Linked DNA regions of Homo sapiens: regions 2, 3, 4 and 5 are each linked to region 1. The links are contacts of gene promoters, found by promoter capture Hi-C in human tissues and cell types (Jung and others, 2019). All regions are on one chromosome and are shown on one strand. The core of a region is centred on a gene start or on the middle of the fragment in contact, and the rest is flanking DNA. Distances in the headings are between cores, read along the strand shown. Region 1 holds the start of ABCC12 (ATP binding cassette subfamily C member 12). Region 2 has its middle 75 kb from the start of LINC02133. Region 3 has its middle 44 kb from the start of LINC02133. Region 4 overlaps LINC02192 (long intergenic non-protein coding RNA 2192). Region 5 overlaps LINC02192 (long intergenic non-protein coding RNA 2192).

Region 1 (4,977 bases), core at 774-3,273:
CCAGGAGTGAGGAGCTGCCTGGGGTGAGAAATCTGTTTGCTGGCAATCACAGGATGGGGTCTGAGGGGTACACAGCTGATGAGAGCTGGGAGGAGGCAGTGCCAACCGGGCCAGGGTCCCTGCAGCCATCATGGCTCTGTTCTTGGCATTGTGTTTTCCATGCAGAGCATCTGAGGGTTGGCAGGAGATGCCAAAAAGTCACTGGTGCACCCCTCTGCTAGCAGGCAGGGGGTTCCTAACCTAACCTCAACAGACTGGACAGGCAGAAGCAGGAAGGCCTCTGTTTAGAGCACAGGACACAAAGACCATGTACAACTTGCAGTTCCATTTTATATGGCCTGCATAGTTTAAACATTTTTTTCCAATTTGTGGAAAACATTTAAAAATGAGGAGATACCACATTAAAAAAAAAATAAGACTGGCTTCTGGCTTTCGTCAAATATCAAGAGCTCTGTATGTTCATGTGGTGACAATCCACTTACGTTGAGCACGGCAGCCCCTCCTGGGCAGGGTATACATGCTTTAGTTTGCCACAATCCCCACCACTCCTTACTGTCTCTGTGACTCTGAGATTTGGGGTCATGTAACATTTATTATTGCATTGGCACTGCTGTCTTCCTTATAGTGTTTCCTGAGGCCTTTTTCTCTATCCTTGTCTCTGCCCCAAGAGAGAACAAAAGATGTCTAGAAGTCATCTCAAGAAGAACCATTTTCCACACCTGCCCACTTTGCTCTGTTATATTTCATTTCTGCCCCTGTCTAGCCCAGAAAATTAACAACTTTATGTTTGAGAACTGGACTCTGGGTCTTCCTTGGTGCTCATGATGGGAGTTCCTCCATCAACCAAAAGCAGGCACACCTTTAGTCATAAAATTTTTCCCAGGTATGAGACTACAGCCCTACTTCTTTCTTAATAAATCCATTGTTAATTTAAAGCCACCAAAGTTATCAATATCTGATGGTCTCCCCCAACTCCCACAGCCCCTTCCTCCAGGGCCTGACTGGCCTCCAGCACAGAGGAGACACTGGGGAGCTCTCCCAGGCCCTGCCTGCACCGCACCTCTCCTGTCTGTCCCCAGGTCCCAGGCACCTGTGGCAGCCAGATCAGAAAGCCCTGTGAGTGATGAGGGACTGGGGTTGGGAGGCAGGGAGAGGCAGAGAGGTGGCAGAGGGAAGTGCATGCAGGGGACAGCACCAAGCTGGGGGTGTGGGAAGGGAAGTGGGGGTGCTTTTGCTCAAGTACCCTCATCTCCCAGAAGGCCTAAAACAGTGGCCAGTGATGGCATCTCCAAAAGAGGTCATCCATCCAGTTACAGACACATTCCGACACGATCAAAGAAGGATGCAGAGCCTGGATTCAGAGCAATTCAAATCTACCCTCCCAGGAAAATAATATATTTAAAAGTTAAAAAAAAAAAAAAAAGAAAGAAAGATGAAAACCTCATATGAGAACTGCAGTAAAGCTTTCCAGGTCTTTTTTTTTGGGGGGGAGGTATAAATCCCATAATTAAATTGTGAACACTACCCTGTATATGTGTTTGTGTTTGTGCATGTGTGGGAAAAGACTTAAAATATTCAATGTAGGCTTTTGTATTTCAGAGATTTTGAAATCGCGTCTTGGCATTTCTGCCTTTTCTTTTATGATAGCGGGGGCTCCAAAAGTGGAAGAGGGGCTGCCTTTCTTCTGGGAGCCTCGTCCCTGCTGCCTCCCACTTGGGCAGCCCCATTCAGTGGTGTCACCTCCCCCAAACCCCCCACCACACACACACACAGCCTGTCCTGAGGATGAGAAACAAAGGCCCTTGGGACTAAATGGTGGCCACTAATTGTTACAGGGAGAAGCTTTACCTGGGCTGGAAATGAAGCTTTACCTGGGCTGAGGATGAGAGGGAGGGGAGGAGGGTCAGCAGTCATGGGGCTCAGAGCCTGGCATCTGCTGCCCAGGACTCCAGGGCCTGCTTCTCCCCAAGGACCTCAGATTCAGTTTCTCTTGTCCCACCCGCCTGAAGTCCTCCTCTCCAACTGCCCCATTCAACTGCCACTCCCACCACACCTGAGAGGGAACTCTGGCGGGCCAACATTCCCTCTGCCCACATTAAAGGGCTCTCCCCTCTTCCAGGATGGCCTGTGGCCGGGTCTGGCTCTTTGGTGACAGTCAGAGCCCATGCATGAAAGCACTGTGCATGGCCAGCCCTTCCCTGGCTGTCACAGCACATCCTTGTAGAAGAGAAGGAGAAAAATCCTCTCTCCAACCGTCATTCTACAGACGAGAAGCCCAAGGAACAGAAGCCTGTCCACGACTGGCGTGGGGCTGAGACCAGCACCCAGGTCCCCTGAGTCCCACTCCAGGCTCCTTCCTGAGAGAATGCATCGAATTTTCTACGCTGTGTTCCTGCAACCGGGAATCAACTTTGGGATCAGGGGAAGGGAAGGGAGGGGAGGGGAGGGCAGGGGTAGGGGAGGGCAGGGGTAGGGGAGGGCAGGGGAGGCGAGGGGAGGGGAGATGAGCCTCATCTTCAAAACAGAAAATCTCATTCATTCATTCCCCATTCATTTAACGAAAAAGAAAAGGGTAATTTGAGCTCAATTTGTCTTGAAATGAACGGAAGGTAAGTCTGAGACCTGCACTAGCAGCTAGCCCTTGCATAGAAAAGTTCCCCTGTGTCACCCTTGGAACCCTGCACATCCCGAGCGCAAGCGTGATTCCCGGGGTCCCTTCTGCGCCTGTCCCAGAACAAGCGCCCGATTTCAGGGGAGCCCAGCCGAAGGGTTCCACAGCGCTCAGCGAGCCGGCTGGGAGGGAGCAAACTCTCTAACTGCAGAAAAAAACAAATCTTGATTCCGCTTTAAGGGTTATTTAAACATCTTAGAGGACCTTCCCAGCCTCACGCACGTGGATTTCATGAGGAACTTGGCCGCTACCTTCTCCTGTCCTGCGCAATGCCGCCCCCTGCTGGCTGCCTTCCGGCCCCGCCGCTTCCTGGAGATGCGAATTCACCGCCTTTGCCCAACCTGAGTTCCCTTCCTACCTAGAGGGAGGTGGAAATGGAGAGGGGCTGTGGGCAGCTGTGTAGGAAAATGGGTCCTCCCAGGAAGGCTCCCCGGCCTGGGGAGTGAGCTAGACCGACAGCAGTTTCCTTACACGTGTCCAAAGTGTTCCATTTAATTTCCGTCCATTCTTCCCTTCATGAATGCAAATCACTGCTAATAATATCACTCGACATTTCTGGAGCCCTTTGTGTATCGCAAAATTCTTCATCCTCTTTATCACTTGATCTTCGCAACAACCCCGGGGGTCTCATAAACACAGCAAAGACTCGCTTCCACAATCTTCCAAACGGAGTCAAGTGCTGTCAAGTTTATGGAGGAAGAATGCCGATCAGTTTTCCTCTATCTCCATGAAAGGCTGGGCGGAGATGGATTTCCACCCAGACAAACAGTATTGGGCGCTACGCAAGAAGATTGGTGGGCCTAGCCGGAAACAGAGTGGAGAATGATGGAGAGGGACTGTCCGGTCTGTATCCAAGGAAGTCCTTAGGAAAAGACCAGCCAAGCTCCTGTTCCAGGCAGAGCGTGGACTCACCCATAGTCAGGGAACTGAGGCCCATCCTGGGTGTACACACAGCTCGCGGGGGGGCGAGATAATCCACTGGAATACAAAAAGAAAAAAAATAGAAATCCTTTTCATATTTCTCCTCTTCCTTTAAAAATTCTATTTTGGCTGTGTGCAGAGGCTCAGGCCTATAATCCCAGTACTGGGGGGCCAAGGCAGGTGGATCACTTGAGCCCAGGCATTCAAGACAAGCCTAGGCAACATGGTGAAACCCCATCTCTACTGAAAATACAAAAATTAGCTGGGCGTGGTGGCATGTGTCTGTAGTCCTAGCTACTTGCGAGGCTGAGGTGGGAGTATGAATTGAGCCAGGGAAGTCAGGACTGCAGTGAGCTGTGATCGTGCCACTGCATTCAGGCCTGGATGATGAGAGTGACTCTGTCTCAAAAAAAAAAATTGTGTACAGTGATATACATGTGTAGGGGAGAAAAAGTGTGATACTTTTCCTCACCAGTCATGTGGGTCATGGCTGACACTCTTGTAACAAAAGGCAGACTAACAAAAGGAAAGCATAACAATTTTATTTCATCAAAGTTTAATGTGACATGTGAGTCTTCAGAAATGAATACCGAAAGGCTCAGGAAGAACTGTCCATTTTTATGCTTAGACTCAATGAGGAATGGACAGTGGTATAGAAATGCGATTGGACAGAAAGTTCTGATTAACTGTAATGGACCGAGGTGATGGGATGGGGACCCAGCAGGGCCTGTCTGTTCAGATTCTTCTTGGCCTCTCTGCACAGCATTTCTTCTTTCTAGGTATGGGGCACGACCCCTCTGGAATGAGGGTCTTAGGACCTACTCTCAGACAAAGTTGGTCAGAGAATTTCTTTACGGCCAGCTCCTGTGCAGAAGGGTGGAGGAAAGTTTGAGTCATAGTTTTAGGTTCTATCGGTGGCTTTGGGGGAAGAATTTCTATGACTCACCTTGGGGAAGGGGAACTCTGGTTTCTATGACTCACCTCATGGGAGAAGAGGTGCACAAGGGGTGCAGGAGGGCAGGAGAAGGTCAGAGAGAACTTGCTTCTGAGGCTGCTTCTGAGGTCATCCAAACTCCATCAGTTCAAAGTACTCAGCCTGCCAAAGTGCCATACTTTGGGGTATTGTTGTCCGAGCCTCAACACATGTCCACCCTGCACATCCTTGTAAATAACTATACATGCATAAATTAGGGGTCTGTGTGCGCACATACCAGCAGTGGTGCTCCATGGCAAGGGAAAATTGGTGCTTGATGGGAAGGAAATTTTCCCAGCTCTGAGGTTCTGTGGGGTCTCTATTCCAAAGTGAGGTTCTCGCCGGGCATGGTGCTTCACACCTGTAATCCCTGAACTTTGGGAGGCTTGGGCAGGCAGATCACCTGAAGCTA
Region 2 (4,977 bases), core at 1,366-3,865, 370 kb before region 1:
CAGTTCTGGAGGCCGAATTCCAAGAGCAAGGTGCAAGCTGATTCAGTGCCTGGTGAGGGTCTGTTTCCTGGTTCATAGATGGCCCCTTCTTACTGTGTCTTCCCATGACAGAAGGGGCTAGGTAGGCTCTCTAGGGTCTCTTTTTAAAGAGCACTAATCCCAGTCATGACCTGATCACTTCCCAAAGGCCGCTAATACAATCACTTTGGGGGTTAACTTTCAACATATGAATTTTGAGTTGGGGGCACAGACGTTCAGACCATGGCAGTAGGTTTTCAGTTCTCCTGAGACTGTGCTGAAGAGTGGAATTTCTGGGTTGTATGGTAACTCTGTGGTTCATGTTTTGAGGAACCACTCCTTTTTTTTTTTCTCATTTAACATGTAAGGAAATGGAGGCTTGGATAGTTTAGGTCAACTGGCAAATGCAGCTAGTAAGCCAAACTGCTGGGAGTCCAGGCCAGCAGTTTTCACCCGGACCCCGTGCACGGAACTCCTCCATCACACTGACTTGCCGTGCATCCGGAAGGACTGGAAGTTATTTTGGTGAATGGGGGCAGGAAGGACTCCTGGGAAGATGTGTTACATCCTAGAAGTATGGGAGGACTTTTTGCATTTATGTGGGAGGAGAACAACTAGACCATGCATTTTGTGGGATGAACTGACAGAACAGAGGTTGAAGGAGCTGTTCCTTGAAGGGCCTTGCATACCATGCTCAGGAATTGAATGCAGAAAGATTTTAAGCAGAAGCGTAAGTATGAAAAATATATGCATGTAAAAGAAAAATGAAACCCAACCTCATATGAAAAGGCAAACACAGAGGAAAAAATATTTGCAGCCACATGACATTGGGTTAATAGCTTTGTTATATAAAGGACTCTTAAAACTGATGATGAAAACATTTAAACCTAACTAGATAAATGGGCAAAGGACATGAACAGATGATTCACAAAATAAGAAATGCAAAGCAGTAAACAAACATATGGAAACATGTTCAACTTCTAGTATAATCAAAGACATGCAAATTTAAACAACAGTAAGGGAAGCAATTCTTTGCCTATCAGATTAGCAAATGTTTGTCAAAATGATAATAGTCGATTCTGGCAAGAGGGAGCTATAAGAGAGGAATTCCCGCGCATCCTTGGTATGTTCAAATCCCGGATGCCAAATGCTCCCTTCCTCGTAGCTCTGTAATTCTGATCTGGCAATTAGTTCCCTCAGAAGCTCCATCTACATACTGTTTACAATAAAGACAAAAATTAGAAACAAGAAGGCAGAGGGTGTAGGAGACCAAAGTTCAGCGCATCATCTACATGTGAACGTCAGGGGGGTCACTCTAGCCCTGACATCTCAAGGAGCTCCAGAACTATGCAAGTAAAACTTTATTGTTTTATCCAAACTTGCTTTGCCACACTGATTTTTTCTTTCTTTCCAACTTTTAGTTTAGGTTCAAGGGGTACAAGTGCAGGTTTGTTATGTGGATAAATTGCATGGAGTGGGGATTTGGTATACAGATCATTTTATTACCCCGATACTCAGCATAATACCCGATAGGTAGTTTTTCTATCCTCACCCTCCTCCCACCCTCCACCCCCAAATAGGCCCTGGAGTCTGTTTCTCCTTCTTTATGTCCATGGATACTCAGTGTTTAGCTCCACTTATAAGTGAGAGCATGTGGTATTTGGATTTCTCTTCCTGCATTAATTCACTTAAGATAATGGCCTCCAGCTCCATCCATGTTGCTGCAAAGGACGTGATTTTATTCTTTTTTTTTTGTGGCTGTGTAGTATTCCGAAGACCACTCCCATTCTTAAGTTTCCTTAACAGTATCACTGGCTGAATTGTAATCCATTTCTCTCCTCCTCTTTTCCTTCATTTAATCTATTCCCCTCAAATTTTATAGTTATACCCCAGAAAGCCCCTTGAATCTGTTCTCTCACCTTCTTTCTAATTGCCATTGCTTTAAACCATCCCTTATTTTCTCACTCCTCAATTATTTCCAGAGCCTCCTCTCACAGGCTGTATCTCCTGTCTCCTGTCCCAGGGGGTATGGAGTGAGAAGGAAGGGGAAGTATCAAGGAAGAGACACAATAAGGCCTTCAACAGTATCTGTATGCTTTTATTTCTTATTTTTAGAATATCTGAAGCAAATATCCCAAAAGGGTAGGATTTATTGAATCTATTATATTAACCAGATATTCAGTACATTCTCTAAATTTGGAGTATTTAATAACAAAATGTTTCGCATCTCTTGTCTGATCTCCTATTTGGAAATTCCCCTTTATTCTCTTTCTTCTTTCACAATTCCTTTAAATATTTTAATAATAAGTAAATCTGATTATGTCACCCTTGACTTGAAAATTTCCATTAGCTTAGCTTTCTGTTTCTTACAGAATAAAATCCAAACTCATTAGCTTGACACAACGGGCTCTTCATACCCTATACCCAAGCCATGCTACACTTTATAGTTCCCCAAACCCTAACCTAAATGACTCTAGCCCCTACCCCGCACCTCTGCACATACCCTGCCTAGCACATCCACTCTCCAGCTCCCCATCTGGCAGCTCTCAACCCACTTTTCAAAGTCAAGGTCAAGCATCTCTTCCAGAAGAAAGCTTTCTCTGATGTTCTCAAAGCAGAGTTTGGTCATTCCTTTCTTTAGCTTCTCAAAAATATTTTGTTCATGACATTTATCATTGCTTTTACCACACTGCTTTGAAATTTGTCTTCATTGTTTCCTGTAATAACAGATTGTGAGTTCTGCAAGGACAGGGCTGGTGTCCTATTCATCTTGCAAATCCCAGGCTGAGTGCAGTGCCAAGAACATTGGGAGCCCTGTGAGTGCCATTAGAATGGAGGAAAGAGGAGAAGCAGAGAGTCCGTGTGCACCAGAACAGGTTTTTCCCTCCTCAATGGAAATAAGAGTGCAGACCAAAGTTTGTGTAGACTCAGTTTGGATGGCAGGTAGAGCCAAGCCAGTGAACAGAGAGTACTGTTGGAAGAGAACCTATTCCAATGGCAGAAGGCAGGATGGAAATGTTGAAAGTTTGAGGGCATTCTGTGAGGGCAGACGTGCATCCTGGACCAATCAGGCATACCCCTGGCCTTCAGTGATACAGAAAATGTGGTGGCTTGATGCTCAGATCTGCTTTAGATTTGAGGCATCTGTTCCCTTAGCTGCAGGGAGTGTGGCAACCAACCACTCTTGGTTGAGTAGCTTTGTAGGACTTGCCCTCAGCCCAAGAAAGCCACCTCATCTAAGTTCATGCCCCTTCCTGAGGTCAATGACTGGGCTGGCCAATGAGGGATGCAAAGGTCCAGCCTGCTTGCCTCCAGGCTGGGCAACTAAGGGTAACTCTAGCACCAGAGCTCCACATGGGATCATTTGAGGCTTTTTTGTTTCTGCAACAAAGTTCACCTTTTCCCCTTACCCATTTCTGCTTTCTTCACTGTCAAACAGGTGCTAATTCCTAAGTCACTCTTTAATAAACTTCTGGCATGAAAATCTCCATCTCAGTCTGTTTCCCAGAGAACTGACCTAAGACAAGTGATGTTGCAAGCGTTTATGTTTCTATTCCAATCTTTTTACTACGTTGGAAAATGCTTCCTTATACACAGCTACCAACATTCGCTCCCCAAATTTTTGAAGTTTTTTTTTTAATCATTTTGTTATTGGTCCGAAGGTTACTGACCAATGATCCCACCTCCTCTTCTTAAGACCTGAGTAAATGTTTTCTTGTTTTTGTTTTTGTAAAGATTGCTAAAGTGTCACTTATTTACTTACTTGAGTTGCATTATATTTCATCATATAGAGGTTTGAAATTAAAACAAATTGGCATTGAACTAGGAAGGTATAGACAACTTCGATATTTGGTTCCCCTCTCTATTAGCTAAATTGTTAGGGAAAAAACCTTTTAAAACTTCTTAGAATACTCCAATTTTAAAGGAAAAATAACTTTGACCAGACATATTTTTATTCCCAGTGAGTTGACTTTGAGGGATGAAGGCCTGTCTATATGAGCTGAGTGATAGGCTGTGGTTTGAGGGAGCTGGCTATAAAGTATGTTTGAGATTTTTAATTCGTGGGTTGGAATGCCAATTGTTTATTTGGAACAGCAAAGGCTGAGATGGTCAAACATCCAAACATGGTGGTATGTGCCCTTGAATGGCCCGTTTCAACAACGGGCTTTGCTTTGAGGATGTGTGTGGCTATGGTGTTGCATTGGAAAGAAGATAGAATTTGTGGGAGGAAACTTTGGAAAGCTGTCAGAAAATGAGACCCTCCTTCCTCCCTTTTCTCTTTAGAATGAACTTTAGTCCATTTTTCTCAATCCTGCCTGGGACTTTGTCCTCATTTTTGAGCCCCAATCCAACAGGGTCCCTTCTCTCCAGCAGTCTCTACAGTTCTGCTCCTTCACCCATATCCTATTCATGTCATGGCAGATTTTCTATGTGTTCTGCAACAGATTGTTTCATAGAATTGTTTTTTAGTATTTGTGAATTCATTTGGAATGCAGACATTGCAATCATGGGTAAGATTGACTATTAGGAGAAATACTCTCTCCTCCCCTCCCTTGGAGCAATTGAATAGCATGCCACACATCAGATCAAACGAACAGGCTTTAGCTTCATTGGTAAACAGTTTACACTGCAGAGCTACTGCCATCTTGCCAAATCGCCTAAGAATTAGATATGGATTCCAGCTCACCTTGCTAATTAATTCAGAATGAGAAGATATTCCAAAAAGCAACATTCTTTTATACCGGTGGAGAGTCACACAGACATTTAAAAATGCTTGAAAACTGGGGTGGGTGGAATATCTATCCTGCCTGTTATTTTTAGCTTAAGAAGATTTCTTTGCCAAAGTCTGTTTCCAAAATTTTATCACTTTCTGAGAAAAATAGTGTGCATAAAAGCATTTGGGTATTATGGCTGACTGATTCATCTTTGAAACACCAGCACCTAGCATAGTTCTGGGCA
Region 3 (4,977 bases), core at 1,237-3,736, 340 kb before region 1:
CATTTAATGTTAATATTGTTACGTGTGAATTTGATCCTGTCATTATGATGTTAGCTGGTTATTTTGCTCGTTAGTTGATGCAGTTTCTTCCTAGCCTTGATGGTCTTTACAATTTGGCATGTTTTTGCAGTGGCTGATACCGGTTGTTCCTTTCCATGTTTAGTGCTTCCTTCATGAGCTCTTTTAGGGCAGGCCTCGTGGTGACAAAATCTCTCAGCATTTGCTTGTCTGTAAAGTATCTTATTTCTCCTTCACTTATGAAGTTTAGTTTGGCTGGATATGAAATTCTCGGTTGAAAATTCTTTTCTTTAAGAATGTTGAATATTGGCCCCCACTCTCTTCTGGCTTGTAGAGTTTCTGCCAAGAGATCCACTCTTAGTCTGATGGGCTTCCCTTTGTGGGTAACCCGACCTTTCTCCCTGGCTGCCCTTAACATTTTTTCCTTCATTTCCACTTTGGTGAATCTGACAATTATGTGTCTTGGAGTTGCTCTTCTCCAGAAGTATCTCTGTGGTGTTCTCTTTATTTCCTGAATTTGAATGTTGGCCTGCCTTGCTAGATTGGGGAAATTCTCCTGGATAATATCCTGCAGAATGTTTTCTAACTTGGTTCCATTCTCCCCGTCACTTTCAGGTACACCAATCAGACGTAGATTTGGTCTTTTCACACAGTCCCATATTTTTTGGAGGCTTTGTTCATTTATTTTTATTCTTTTTTCTCTAAACTTATCTTCTCACTTCATTTCATTCATTTTATCTTCCATTGCTGATACCCTTTCTTCCAGTTGATTGCATCGGCTACTGAGGCTTGTGCATTCGTCACGTAGTTCTCATGCCATGGCTTTCAGCTCCATCAGGTCCTTTAAGGACTTCTCTTCATTGGTTATTCTAGTTAGCCATTAGTCTAATTTTTTTTCAAGATTTTTAACTTCTTTGCCATTGGTTCGAACTTCCTCCTTTAGCTTGGAGTAGTTTGATCTTCTGAAGCCTTCTTCTCTCAACTTGTCAAAGTCATTCTCCATCCAGCTTTGTTCCATTGCTGGTGAGGAGCTGTGTTCCTTTGGAGAAGGAGAGGCACTCTGATTTTTAGAGTTTCTGGTTTTTCTGTTCTGTTTTTTCCCCATCTTTGTGGTTTTATCTACCTTTGGTCTTTGATGATGGTGATGTACAGATGGGTTTTTGGTGTGGATGTCCTTTCTGTTTGTTCGTTTTCCTTCTAACAGTCAGGACCCTCAGCTGCAGGTCTGTTGGAGTTTGCTGGAGGTCCACTCCAACAAACTCCTGGGTATCAGCAGCAGTGGCTGCAGAACAGCAGATATTGGTGAACCGCAAATGCTGCTGCCTGATTGTTCCTCTGGAAGTTTTGTCTCAGAGGAGTACCCGGCTGTGTGAGGTGTCAGTCCACCCCTACTGGGGGGTGCCTCCCAGTTAGGCTACTCGGGGTTCAGGGACCCACTTGAGGAGGCAGTCCGCCTGTTCTCAGATCTCAAGCTGCATGCTGGGAGAAACACTACTCTCTTCAAAGCTGTCAGACAGGGATATTTAAGTCTGCAGAGGTTACTGCTGCCTTTTGTTTGTCTGTGCCCTGCCCCCAGAGGTGGAGCCTACAGAGGCAGGCAGGCCTCCTTGAGCTGTGGTGGGCTCCACCCAGTTTGAGCTTCCCAGCCACTTTGTTTACTACTCAAGCCTCAGCAATGGTGGGCGCCCCTCCCCTAGCCTCACTGCTGCCTTGCAGTTTGATTTCAGACTGCTGTGCTAGCAATGAGTGAGGCTCTGTGGGTGTAGGGTCCTCCGAGCCATGTGCGGGATATAATCTCCTGGTGTGCCTTTTGTTAAGCCCATTGGAAAAGCGCAGTATTAGTGTGGGAGTGACCCAATTTTCCAGGTGCTGTCTGTCACCCCTTTCTTTGACTAGGAAAGGGAATTCCCTGACCCCTTGCACTTCCCAGGTGAGGCGATGCCTCTCCCTGCTCACTGCTCACGCACAGTGCGCTGCACCCACTGTCCTGCACTCCCCAGTGAGATGAACCTGGTACCTCAGTTGGAAATGCAGAAATCACCCATCTTCTGTGTCGCTCACGCTGGGAGCTGTAGACTGGAGCTGTTCCTATTTGGCCATCTTGGCTCCACCCCACAGGGCACTCCAGACAAGTTTTAAAAAATCATGTTGAGCTTCTTTTTTTCTCTCTAGGATACTACATTATGGAAAAAATTTGTTAAATACCTGTTAGGTGTTATCCACTTTTTACAAAGGAGAAAAAAGACATAAAATGGGGTTAAGAAATTTGCTTAAGGAGACAGAGGTGGCATGCATTAGAATCTGAAGTCAAAGTCAGATTGCTTGGATTCCCCATCTGGCTTTCAGGACTATCCTGCCCCTACATGACCTTTAGAAATGGTGTTTCTCTCTCGGTGCTTTGAACTCCTCATCTATAAAAGGCAGATTCAGGTAAATTGCCTACATACCTCAAAGGCAGGTTCTGAGGATAAAATAAATAGGTAAATCTGAAAGCACATTGAAAAATGTTACAAGACATGGGGAAGACAAAGGAAGAACTTCTCCCCTTTGTTGTTATTGATGTTGATTTGTTTTTCTCCAAATTCATTTTTTTCAATGTCATTTATTTAATTATTATTATTATTTCTTTTTGGACAGAACCTCTCTTGCCCAGCCTGGAGTGCAATGGCATGATCTCGGTTCACTGCAACCTCCGCCTCACTGGTTCAAGCAATTCTCCTGCTTCAGCCTCCCGAGTAGCTGGTGCTATAGGTAAGTGCCACTACGCCTGGCTAATTTTTTGTATTTTTAGAAGAGACAGGGTTTCACCATGTTGGTCAGGTTGATCTTGAACTCCGGACCTCAAGTGATCTGCCCGCCTCAGCCTCCCATAGTGCTGGGATTACAAGCATGGGCCACTGTGCCCGGCTAATTTTTGTGTGTGTGTTTTTGTTTTGTTTTGTTTTTTGTTTTTTGTTTTTTTTTAGCATAGACGGGGTTTTGCCATGTTGGCCAGGCTGGTCTTGAACTCCTGACTTCAAATGATCCACCCACCTCAGCTTCTCAAAGTGCTGGGATTACAGACATAAGCCACTGTGCCTGGAGTATTTTTAATTTTAGATCCAGAGGGTCCGTGTGCAGATGTGTTGCACAGGTGTATGGTATAATGCTGGGGTTTGGGCTTCTATTGAACCCACCACTCAGACTGTGAATATAGTACCCAATAGGTAGTTTTTCAAACCTTGACTCCTTCCCTCTGTCCCTCATTTCAGAGTCCTCAGTGTCTATTGTTTCCATCTTTACATCCATGTGTACCCATTGTTGAGCTCCCACTTATGAGTGAGAACATGTGATACTTGATTTTCTGTTTCCACATTAATTCACTCAGGATAATGACCTCCAGCTGCATCCATGTTGCTGTAGAGGACATGATTTTGTTCTTTTTTATGGCTGCATACTATTCCATGGTGTAGCTGGACCACATTTTCTTTATCCAATACACTGTTGTTGGGTACTTAGGTTGATTCCATGACTTTTCTATTGTCAACAGTGTGATGATAAACACGAATGTGGATGTCTTTTTGATAGAGTGATTTCCTTTCCTTTAGGTAGATACCAAGTAGTTTGATTGCTGAGTTTAATGATAGTTCCATTTTTTGTTCTTTGAGAAATCCTCCATACTGTTTTCCATGGGGTTGAATTAATTTACATTCTCACCAAAAGTGTATAAACATTCCTTTTTTTCCATGGCCTTGCCAACATTTGTTATTTTTCACTTTTTAATAATAGCCACCCTGACTGGTGTGAGATGGCATCTCATTGTGGTTTTAACTTGCATTTTTGTGATGATAGTGATGTCATCACTCCAAATTCTTGAGTGTTAATTGGATGGTCCCACCACATGATTTCTCAGATCTACCACACTATGAACTACAGTGTGAACTACAAATCTACTATGAGTGTGAACTACAGTGTTCTGAAGAAACACATGTATGCATATATGCATTTGATCTGAAGAATCCTGTGGTAAGACAAGGATCATGCCCTTGTATTTCAGGGCAAACTTGAGTCTTCTGTGGACTTATTGGCCAGAGCTGGTGAATGAGCTGCTCTATACAGCAGAGCAAGCGAGGGGCCGAGCTTAAGAAAATCTTGGAATCAGTGCTGGGGGTGTATGCTGGGCAGGTTCCTGGGGCTTGGGGTATAAGGGGAGAGGATTCTGTAGATTTCCTTGTCGGCTCTTCCTTCACTCCTACACTGCCACCCACCTCTCTGAAGCACCTTTTCACTTTCTCAGCCTTGGATTTTGTGCTACTCTCTTTTTCTACAGTACCCAACTCCAGAGTGACATACATCAAGAGAGGGAAGAAGAAATCACAGCAATCCCATGTTGTTATCTAAACATTTTCTTGATTTGGTTATTGTACATGTACTTGCAACAATTTTTAACTGTTGATATTTATGTTGCATAAATAATTGAATGGCTTATAAGGGGCACTAAGAAAGACTTCGAACAGTCAAGTTCACCTGCAAATGCATGCTTCTAATGAGCTGAAGCTGACTGATGGGTCTATAGGTGTTCATTAGATCAGTGGTCAGTATACTATTTTTTAAAGGGCCAGATAGTAAATATTTTAGGCTTTGCAGGCCATATGGTCTCCATCACAACTATTCAGCTCTGCCATTGCAGCATGAAAGCAGCCATAGACAATATGTAAATGGATAAATGTGGCTGCATTCCACTAAAACTTTATTTACAAAAACAGGTGGCAGGCCAGATTTAGCTCATGGGACAAAATTTTCCAACTCTGCCTTATTCTATCTAGTTTAGTAGATGTTTCAAAATTTCCATGATAAACTTTAAACTATTTGTGCTTGAAGTTATATGTGACAATTTCTTAAGGAGTGAGATTGTAATTATAAAATTATTACCCTATATTGCTATGCACAGAGTGAATAGTCACTCAATGACAGTAATTA
Region 4 (4,977 bases), core at 869-3,368, 300 kb before region 1:
CCCAACACATACACACAACTCCAACACACACACACCTCCAGCACACACATACATCCAGCACACACACAACCCCAACACACGCAATCTTGACACACACATCCCAAAACACACACAACCTCAACACAAACCCAACATACACACACCACACACATACCCAACACACACACACACAACCATAACACACATACACATCCCAACACACACCACATACACCACACAGAATCCCAACATACACACAAACAAGCCCAGCACAATCTCAACACACACATACCCAGCACACACACACAACACACATGCACACCTCCAACAGAATTCCAACACACACACACCCAGCACACACATACCCAGCACACACACATCCAACACACACACACAACCCCAACATACACACACACAGAATTTCAACACAGACACACACACACACCCCTGACTGTAACTCTCTACAGTCTGCCTTGTTGAGTGTTGTAACTTAGTGCCAAGCACTATGCCTGGGGTATAATAGATGCTCACTAATTATTTTTAACTAATGAATGCATACAAGGCACCAGGCCAGCACTTTACACACTATTTCTAAATTTCACAAAAAACTTGGGAGACTTGTACATGATCCTTATGCTACAAAGGATGAGATGGATGCTGAGAGGCCTTGTCTGCAGTCAGTCATCAACCTCTGTGAGCTTCAGGCTCTTCCTTGGAGAGTCAGGATAGGGATGTCAACCTTCAAAGTGGGGCTGGAGGAAGCACCAGATGTGCTGGGCACATGGTTGTTTCTTCCCTGCCCTCCCTTCGTGTACCTTACTGGCCCCAGCCCAAGGAGGGCAACACAGAACTCTGGGACCCAGAATCAGCTGGGGACAATCCCCTGTTCTGAGAGGAGGCTGGCTCAGGAGCAGCCAGGGTGGCAGGTGTTAAAGATGGTGGGAGGAGCAGCGAGAGGCCCTGACCCCTGCAGGATGGGTCAAGATGCCCACCAGGGTGGTGGAGGATACAATCACATTCATGGGGAGCACGAGGTATGCCTGAGTCTGGAGCACAGCTTCCCAGCCCCAGGCCCACTTGGAGGTCCCTAGGGCCCAGTGGGCACTAGTGCACCTCTGGACCCATGAGCTTCTGTGTGTGTTGGGGTTGTGTGTGTGTGTGCGCGTGTTCAGAGGCCCCAGTGGGCTGGTGAGGCCGCTGCAGAATCCAGTCCAGCTGGTCTTTTATCTTGCCTGTTCTCCATTATGTGACCTCCTGACATACTGCCTCTGCGGGCAGGGCTACCCAAACACTAGGTGGACATTCTGCCTGTAGCTTTTCCCATGCTTATCGCTCACCTTGGCAAATCCCTTCCCCACAGTGCTCCACTCTACCAATAATAATCCACCCTACATGTGAAGAAACTTTGATATTTAAAACCCTACTCCTCCTTTAAGGCTGGGGCCTCTTTCTCATTTCCCCTTCTCCACCCAGGGGAGCTCATTGCTCCTCTCTCTGCATGCTCATCGCCTCTTTTTTGTGCTGTTTCACACTGCATTTGTGCTGCTCACTCAGCAGGTAAAGTCAATGAGTAAGGCAGCCTTGGTGTAAGGCAATAAGGAATGAAAGGGACTAGGGCAAACCGGAGAGCACACGCCCCACCCCAAAGCAGCAGCCAGTCATCTTGTCAGTTCCTACTGACCTTTGCCATGTAAGAATCTGGCCTCAATGCTGCCACATTTGATATATTTAGAAGAAACCGGAAACATGGCTTTGAATGTGAAATACTAGTCCTATCTTTTCAGTATTGGTAACAAATCCAATTCAGAAAAAAATATAGGGACCAAGCAAACTTGGTCTGTGACCCCCTTTTTATTTTTATCTTACCTAGATGGTAGACTTTTTGAGAGTGAGTCAAACAGGTAGGGCAGAAGTTGCAAATGATGACTTATTCCTCTTTGGAAAGGTTCTACTACCCAGAATTACCAGATGAGCCATGTGTCTCTCAAGAGACCAGGGTCCTACTATTTATTACCAGGTGGGTTTCCAGAAGGGGTCCATATGGGGCTTGAGGAAGCTAGTGCCTGGAGTGCTGAAATGTCCCAGGAATCTTCCAGTCATAACCTGTGACTGCACAGAGCAGTGCCTAATTAATGTCTATGGAATGAATGCACATTTTATGAGACAGCTCACTTATTCTGCAGCTGCAGGGAGATGGGCCATTTTGGCACTCTGATAGGGAGTCCTGGAGAACTGAGCCAAAATTTTAGTTTCTCCATTTGGGGGATGTGAACTTGGGCAAGTTATTTAACGTCTCTAATCCTGTTCCGTCACTTGAAAAATGGGGATAGTAAATAGATATCTTTCATTTTGTTGTGAGATGAGCGATAATATAGTTAAAGACTTGGCACATAGTAGTCAATAACAGCTATTAACATGGGGATCATGTAAGGATATACCCCTAGCCACAGAGGTTGGGTCCTGGATAGGCATGAGACACGGGTAGGGCCACTCAGAGACATGGCCATCCTTTGCTAAGATTTTTGCTGGAAATATTAGTAAAGCAAACCTCACTCTCCTGGGGAGGCTAAACTGGTAAGATGTAGGTAAGATGTTAAGATGTAGGTAATAAAATCGTTATATATACACACATATATATATATGTCCAGCTATACATATATATATATATGTCCAGCTATATATATATATGTCAGCTATATATATATATGTCAGCTATATATATATATGTCAGCTATATATATATATATCAGCTATTATATATATATATGTCAGCTATATATATATATATATGTCAGCTATATATATATATATATAGCTGGACAATGCGAGCTCAACAGAGTGAGATGGGGTCTCCCTTTGTTGCCCAGACTGGAGTACAGTGGTGCGATCATAGCTCACTGCAACCTGGAATGCCTGGGCTCAAGGCATTCTCCCATCTGCACCTCCTGAGTAGCTGGCACTACAGGCACACATCACCCATGACTGGCTAATTTATTTTTGTAGAGACAGGGTCTGGCCATCTTGCCCAGGCTGGTCTCAAACTCATGGCTCAAGCCATCCTTCCACCTTGGTCTCCCAAAGTGCTAGAATTATAGGCATGAACCCCCGCAGCTGGCTGGAAATATTTTTTTGACATTTGGATCCTGCTGTGCCCGAAGCTGAACTACCCCCAAGTGTCTCTATCATGGGAATAGTATGTCTTCTTTCATGCTTAGGTCAATTTCAGGTGGGTTTCTATCATCTGTACCCAAGAGTCTTGACCACTATAAACCTCTCTAAAGGGAAACAGGGGACCAGTGAAGTACAATGAGTTGTTTCTAAATGCCTATACATGGTGGGGATTTGGAGGAGTGATTTCTGTGTCAGCCAGAGGTCTGCATCTGTACAGCTGATAATTTATGGATGGAATACAGTGGCTTTCAAAAGATTCCTATTTATCTCATGTGGAGGGTTAACTGTATGATAGTACCGCCTTCCTGGTCACAACAGGGAAGCAGAGGCAGGGGAAACAGTGTGTTTGTGGAAGCTTGAAGTGAAATTGTTTTTTACAAATTCCTGACTCCAAGACCTTAGGAAGCAGGAGCGTCTCTGTTTTACAAGATTGATATCAAAACCAGAAACAACAAAGGAGCTATGACAATTTGGCAATAAGGTTTGGCAGCCACCTGCTGCCCTTGGCATCTCAGATCACTCTGAAGGACCTGACTCAAGGTAGATGGGTGTCCTTGTCTGTCCTTAGTTGCTCTGATTCCTGATCAGCATGCAGAGTTTCACAAGCCATGACTCAAAGTCAGCCACGAGGGCACAGCAGCCATAACCCTAGCGTCTAGCACCTGGTACAAACCGATGGCATCTCCCAGGCATTTCTGAACCATTTTCACGTGCCTCTACTCTCCGGCCGTCTCCACACCACCCTGTGTTCTGCCAAAGGGAGCTAAAATGAGCCCTGTTTTACCAAACCACTCAAGCACGGCTGACACAGTGTGTTGCTGCAGAAGGATCGGGGTGGGTGGGAGTAGGGACAGTGCAGAGAGAAAGAAAGGAGTGCATGCTACATCTCTCCCTCTCCAAGAGGACTTGGCAGAAAGCCCATGCATGTTTCAAGCTTGTTTTGACAGTTCCATGACAGGAGTCATAGGGCTGTAGCTGTAGAAAGCCCAAGAAACACATTTTTGTTATCCCATCAAAATCTTCCCGGGGAGCTACATTGTTGGGGCAAGTTATGTGTCATCACTGGCATCAAAAGAGAAAAAGAAATGAATGATCTGGCTCAGGTGCCAAGGCTCTCGTCCTGAGGAGGGAAATGACATTTATTGAGCCCCTGCAATAGCAACAACAAATTATTATTATTGGGCACTTTGCATGTGCCAGGCACTGGGATAAAACACAGGCATGGACTCAGCAATCCCGATGACTGTCCTTGGATACAGGCTGTGCTAATTATCCCCCTTTTAAAGACCAGGCAATGGAGGCGCAGAGGGGCCAGGTGATGTGCCCGAGGCTGCATGGCAGTAAGTGGCGAAGGTGGGATTTGAACTGGTTTGCCTCTCCCAGAGTCCAAATCCTTCCTTGCAACGCAGAGCTGCTCTGACTGTAAGGAGTGTGGGGTCTCTCCTCAGAGTCCCAGATACTCAGGATCTCATTTAATCTTCGCAACAACCCTGAGGCATAGGGGTTTTTAGATCTGCTTTACAGATGAAGAAACTGAGGTCCAGGGAGGCTTAGTGATGCCCAAAGCCACACCTCCAGAAGCAGCAGGATCTGCAGGCACAGCTGGGTGTCCTGGCCCTGGGTCAAGCGACTTTCCTACTGACTTCCACCCACAAGGGCTGCATGATGGTTAATACTGAGTAACAACTTGATCAGATTGAAGGATGCAAAGTATTGTTTCTGGGTGTGTCTTCGAGGGTGTTGCCAAAGGAGATTAATATTTGAGTCAGTGGGCTAGGGAAGGCAGACCCACCCTTAATCTGGTGGGCACAATCTAATCAGCTGCCA
Region 5 (4,977 bases), core at 1,021-3,520, 280 kb before region 1:
AGCGGGGATATAGGATGGTATAGACCAGCTAGGCTAGAGGGCAGAGGTTGGACACAAGCTCAGAAAGGGTCCTATCCCTTCCCCCCGACCATGGGTCTTCCCCAACTTTACCCTTTGTGGGCAGTGCCTTTGCTTTGCCATCACCTGTTATATCTTGTGTCTTTAGCCTGTCCTTGCCCCTGGGATGGGAGCCATGCATGGCCAGTTGTGAATTATTGTGCAGTAGCCATTGTTTCCTATTGACTTGCTATGAGACGGGGTGGGTCTGGGTGTCCTGCTGGGTACTCCACTGGCTTCTATGCCAGTGCTTAGCCGACTCCACCAATTGGGTTGGCACAGCAGGTACCAAACTCTTGTGAATCAGATGCCATGCTTTTTGCCATTGCCATGTTAGACATATACTACTCCTTAATAACTACTCAATAATGAAAGCAACTCATTGTTTAAAGGTGTAAATAAATCGACTTTAAAAAGACATTTCATATTACTATCATAAATGCAAATCCAGCATCAGTTGCTGTAAACATGAGACAATAATTTAAAATAAATGCATAACTATCAAAATAATGCTTTTCAAGTACCATATAAAATACCTGCTGATATTTTACCTCACTGCAAGAAAATACTAGGCTAGAGAAATGAAGCAGGTCCATTTTTGGTAGAAAGGGGAAAATCTTAGAGCCTCAGAGCTGGATGGAGCCCCAGTAAATGTCTAGGTCATGGATTGCAAGCTGTTTTCCCCCACCAATAATGGTCATCCTTCCTCTTTCTTTCTCTCTGTCTCTTTTTTTTTTTTCCCTGGGAACGATGCATAAAGTAGCAAAACGTAGGGCTGAACCCTTTAATGGGCTATCTGTTTCTCTGGAGAAACCCAAAGAAACCCATTCTGCAAACCTCAACCTTCATCCCTTCCTCCCTCTTGTGCCATGCTTGCCCCCATACACAGAGAAGTAGCATCAGTGCCCTCCACCACCCACATCAGCAGCTAGGGGGAGACAGAAGCAAGTCAATGGCCAAGGAGTGGAGGGTGGGCTGGGAGAGTTCACTTAGCTTTGTGACACCAGTGCACCCCCACATTGGATAGCACCCAAGGCCCTCATCAAACATTGAGTGCCATGCTTGTTGAAGCCTGCAAATAATACCCCACGAGCCGCCAACTTCCTTTCCGAGGCACATCTGCCTGGACCTCTGTTCTGTTTGGTGCCAAGGCACTAGGGAGGCTTTAAGGAGCAGGCCGTTGCCTTTCTCTACATGTGCTTCAGGCCTGTCTTACCCTCCCCATGGTCTCCGTCATACTCCTTTCCTGAATATCATTTCTTTCCCTTTCTCCTGCACACAAAAGCTCAACACGGAGTTCATTCTGTGAGCCTAACCTTTTGCTTCCCGCACTTGGGCTGGCTCAAACGCCACTTGCAAAAATGGTAATCTCAGCAGGGCTGAGCTCAGTTCCTGCTGCCCCTTTCCAAGTTTTTGTTTCGTTGCAGAGCTCTAAACCAGTGTCTCCCTCTGTGCTTGGGAGTAAGAGCAGCATCAGACCATTGCAAACCTACTGGATTGGCTGATACTCATTGACTGGATGGAGATTTCAGAGGCAAACCTAGGCTTCTCCAGAGGAAAGTAAGACTTCAATCCCAGTCCTGCCATTTCCTATGAAACCACTTGTAATCTTGGGTTTCTCTTCGTTGTAAAGATAAGAAACGATCTGAATTTCCAAGCTTGGAGTATTGTGGTGAGGACCAATCAGGGAACGCGCATGAGAGTGCCTTGTAAACCTGCCCTGCTGCAGCAATGAGGGCATGGCTTCTGCCAGGCACCTGTAAGCCCTTCCTAAGGGAGTTGAGCAGTTCCCTTAGGGAAAATGTCTTAAATGTTGACTGAATTCTCCCCTCTTCCCAGATCTCCAAATGCCAGTAACTGATTTTGTGGAGGTGGTAGGTAAAGAAATGTTTATGCAAATTGGGCCCTGATTAGATGCAAAAAAAAAAAAAATGTTGACTGCTTTTCGAGGGTGTTCATTGTTATCTGAGAGTTTTGTTTGCACATGAGATGCATACAATGTGATTCACATCATTGGCCTCACCCTGTCTTATTTGCCTTAATGTAATTGTCTGTTCAGATCCACTGATGGTGAAAATTACATTTGTCCTTATCAGTGGAGATACTCTAAAAATGAGAAGTTCAAAGAAGGCAGAGGCTTTAATACAGAGAAAATGTGTTTATTTTCTTAGCTCCTTTGAAACAGTTTTATCCCCTGGAATGGGGTAATTTCTTTGCAGAACAACAAAATGGATGGCTCATGGTAACCCCTCATCAGGGAAAGTGCTAAAAAAAAAGTGGCCTGATTCAGAACATCATCAGTTCAGCAGTGTGTGCTTGAGTAACCTTGGAAGATTTGGAGATTTTCTGAGAAATCCACAATGTGTGCTTGAATGCAAAGGTCATTCCAAGCTCTTCCTATACTGAAATGCTCATGCTAGGAATTGTCCCTCAGCTGGGGAGAATATATAGGAAGACAGAGTTTAGATGTGGAGGAAAAGAGTGAAGTTTTCACCTAGTGGAACAGATTCTTTTTTTTGGTCAAAGTTTATTATTGAAACTCCCTATCTATAGGATTTTTTCAGGTCGGAGTGCAGGGGCACGATCATGGCTCACTGTAGCCTCAATCTCCTGGGCTTAAGTGATCTTCCCACCTCAGCCTCCCACGTAGCTGGACTACAGGGATGTGCCACCATACCCAGCTCATTAAACAATTTTTTTTGTAGATACAGGATCTCACTATGTTGACCAGGCTTGTCTTGAACTCCTGGGCTCAAGTGATCCTCCTGCCTTAGCCTCCCAATGTGCTGGGATGACAGGCATGAGCCACCATACCCAGCCTCGGATTTATAAGGTTTTTGTATTTTTTTTTCTGTCCAGTACAAAACGTTTGGTTACATGCTCCCTTTCAACCTTATTTACCTTCATGAGGCTGTAGCTTTATGTGGAGTCTTCGGCTATCAGATAAGTATAGGTTTCCCAGACTACATAAAATAAAAATAATAGCTAGCATTCTTTGGATGTCCATACGCCAGACACTGTGTTAAAGGCCCAACACATATCATGCCATTTAATCCTCAAAACATCCCTCTGAGCTGGGCTCTATTGCTATTATCCCCTGTGTTTTGAAGAGGGTAAATAACTTTACCCCAGGTGACACAGCTGGTGACTGGGGAGCTGGGACTTGAGCCCAGGTGTGTCCCCGCCTCTATGGCAGTGATCTAATTAACAACGAGGCCAGAACTTCCTGAGCATATGGTGTGGATCAGGCTCACCCAGGAAAGGTTTTGGAAATACAGCAGGTCCTTAAATAATGTCATTTTGTTCAATGCCATTTTGTTATAATATTGATAAGGAAAAGAAATTGATTCCCGTCAGGGGCCACTGTTTGTGTGGAGTCTGCAAGTTCTTCCAATACCTGTGTGATTTTTTCTGGATACTCTGGTTTCCTTCCACATCCCAGTCGTGCACGGGAGGCTCACTAGTGCGTCTCCTTGTCCCATTTGGAGTGAGTGCGGGTGTGTGTGCTTTGCCATGGGACGGCCTCTTAGCCAGGTCAGTTCCTTCCTTGTGCTCTGAGCTGCTGGGATGGGCTCCTGAAATCCTTAACTGGAATAATTGGGTAAATAATTATCTTACTTGTTTTTAATTAATCTTTCTTAATGTATGGATAGTTCAATTTATTTCAGTGTTTAATATCAGAAGTGTTTTGGGTTTTTTTCTAGAGGTTTGGTGATGTTTCTGTGACCAGAAACATAGGAGCTTAACTCTTACTTCTATCAATTAGCCTATGGTAAAATCGGTTTCGTTATATATTGTTTTGCTTAAAGTTGCAGCATCCAAGAACATATTGGCGACGTGAAGTGAGGATTTGCTGTACAGTGAAATAATGATGAAGTGTCGCTGGAGGCGAAGCCTGGGAGTGTGTGCTCTGAGATGGTCCTGCCCAGCTTTGGTTAAGACCATGCCCCGGGCCATGCAGGCTGGCATTCCATAAACTTGCCTGGCTCCTAGAATAACCCAGAGGCATTTGCTGTAATACATAATACGTAGGTTCCTAGGCTCCACTTCAGAGCTCCTGAGTCAGAAAAACCCCAAAAGCACCCGGGACATTTATTTGAATAAAGCACTTGTCTAAGGCACTTACCCAAGGACCATTCATCCAAAGGTGCTCAGCACAAATATATTGAATAAACTAGACCATTCATATGGAAGGTCACTTTTGAATTTGTTGTGGAAAGTGCTTTGGACTAAGACCTGGCTTCCCCTTCTGTTCTGCCCTAATCTGCTGAGCAGCCTCTGGCAAGTCACTTCCTCTCTTTGGACCTCAGTTTTCCCACTGGTAAAATGAGAATGGCTGAGGTGACCCTTTCTGGCTCTCACGCCTTTGAATAGCATGAATATTTATTGAGTGCACCTTTATAAGAAACATCCAAACACAGGGCTGCAGGCTTTGATTTGGATCTCCCAGCACTAATGTTTGAGGCAAAACACCTTAATTTGCTGTGAAACAGTGAATCTTTGTGGACAGGAGTCCTTTTTATCTAACGATTGATAAAGCAGGCATCTCCTCCTTCTGGGTAAACACTGAAGACATTACCTAACCACTTCATCCTGTGTGATCCCAAGATGCAATTGTTCCCCTCCACATGGGAAAGGCCAAAGGGACAGACAAGGCAAGTAATAAACATGCCTTAACTTGAAGAGTCCTTCAGTTTCCCAACTCCTTCCACACCTGTGGCCTCATCTGACTTCAACACACAACTGTAAGGTGGGCAAGTCAGGAGCGTTACCCTCATCTGGTCAAGGAGGCGCCCCAGCTCTTTCAAGTCAAGCTGGAGCTGCATTCTCAACTTCTCCAATGTGGGTGTGTGTTCCCCTGAAGAAGTTGTTTGTGAATGAGAGAAGGGAGCTTGTTGGTTCACCCTCAGCACCTAGAAC

The links. Contacts are between HindIII fragments. The study calls those that stand out against the background at their distance.
Region 2: a contact is called between a fragment that was not itself captured here and the fragment with the promoter of ABCC12 in region 1, in 2 of the 25 tissues and cell types used here (dorsolateral prefrontal cortex and lymphoblastoid cells).
Region 3: a contact is called between a fragment that was not itself captured here and the fragment with the promoter of ABCC12 in region 1, in 4 of the 25 tissues and cell types used here (IMR-90 fibroblasts, dorsolateral prefrontal cortex, lymphoblastoid cells and 1 more).
Region 4: a fragment that was not itself captured here is called in contact with the fragment with the promoter of ABCC12 in region 1 in 2 of the 25 tissues and cell types used here (H1 embryonic stem cells and mesenchymal stem cells).
Region 5: a contact is called between a fragment that was not itself captured here and the fragment with the promoter of ABCC12 in region 1, in 1 of the 25 tissues and cell types used here (mesendoderm cells).

What each region holds. Positions count from the first base shown.
Region 1 is chr16:48,153,970-48,158,946 of GRCh38, forward strand. ABCC12 (ATP binding cassette subfamily C member 12) reads right to left here and starts at 2,024. Exons shown (of 31, transcript NM_001393797.1): 1 at 1,872-2,024. RefSeq lists an enhancer at 4,008-4,977. The HindIII fragment of the contact is 12,201 bases long and covers 1,653-4,977 here.
Region 2 is chr16:47,780,804-47,785,780 of GRCh38, forward strand. No RefSeq gene overlaps it. Among named protein-coding and RNA genes, the nearest start is that of LINC02133, 75 kb to the right of the region's middle. The HindIII fragment of the contact is 3,218 bases long and covers 1,007-4,224 here.
Region 3 is chr16:47,811,975-47,816,951 of GRCh38, forward strand. No RefSeq gene overlaps it. Among named protein-coding and RNA genes, the nearest start is that of LINC02133, 44 kb to the right of the region's middle. The HindIII fragment of the contact is 9,923 bases long and covers 1-4,977 here.
Region 4 is chr16:47,854,764-47,859,740 of GRCh38, forward strand. The region is part of intron 1 of LINC02192 (long intergenic non-protein coding RNA 2192); the gene reads right to left. It overlaps LINC02133 (long intergenic non-protein coding RNA 2133), which reads left to right and starts at 3,818. Exons shown (of 6, transcript NR_110650.1): 1 at 3,818-4,977. The HindIII fragment of the contact is 3,351 bases long and covers 444-3,794 here.
Region 5 is chr16:47,872,644-47,877,620 of GRCh38, forward strand. All of the region lies in intron 1 of LINC02192 (long intergenic non-protein coding RNA 2192), which reads right to left. All of the region lies in intron 2 of LINC02133 (long intergenic non-protein coding RNA 2133), which reads left to right. Among named protein-coding and RNA genes, the nearest start is that of LINC02192, 12 kb to the right of the region's middle. The HindIII fragment of the contact is 4,464 bases long and covers 39-4,502 here.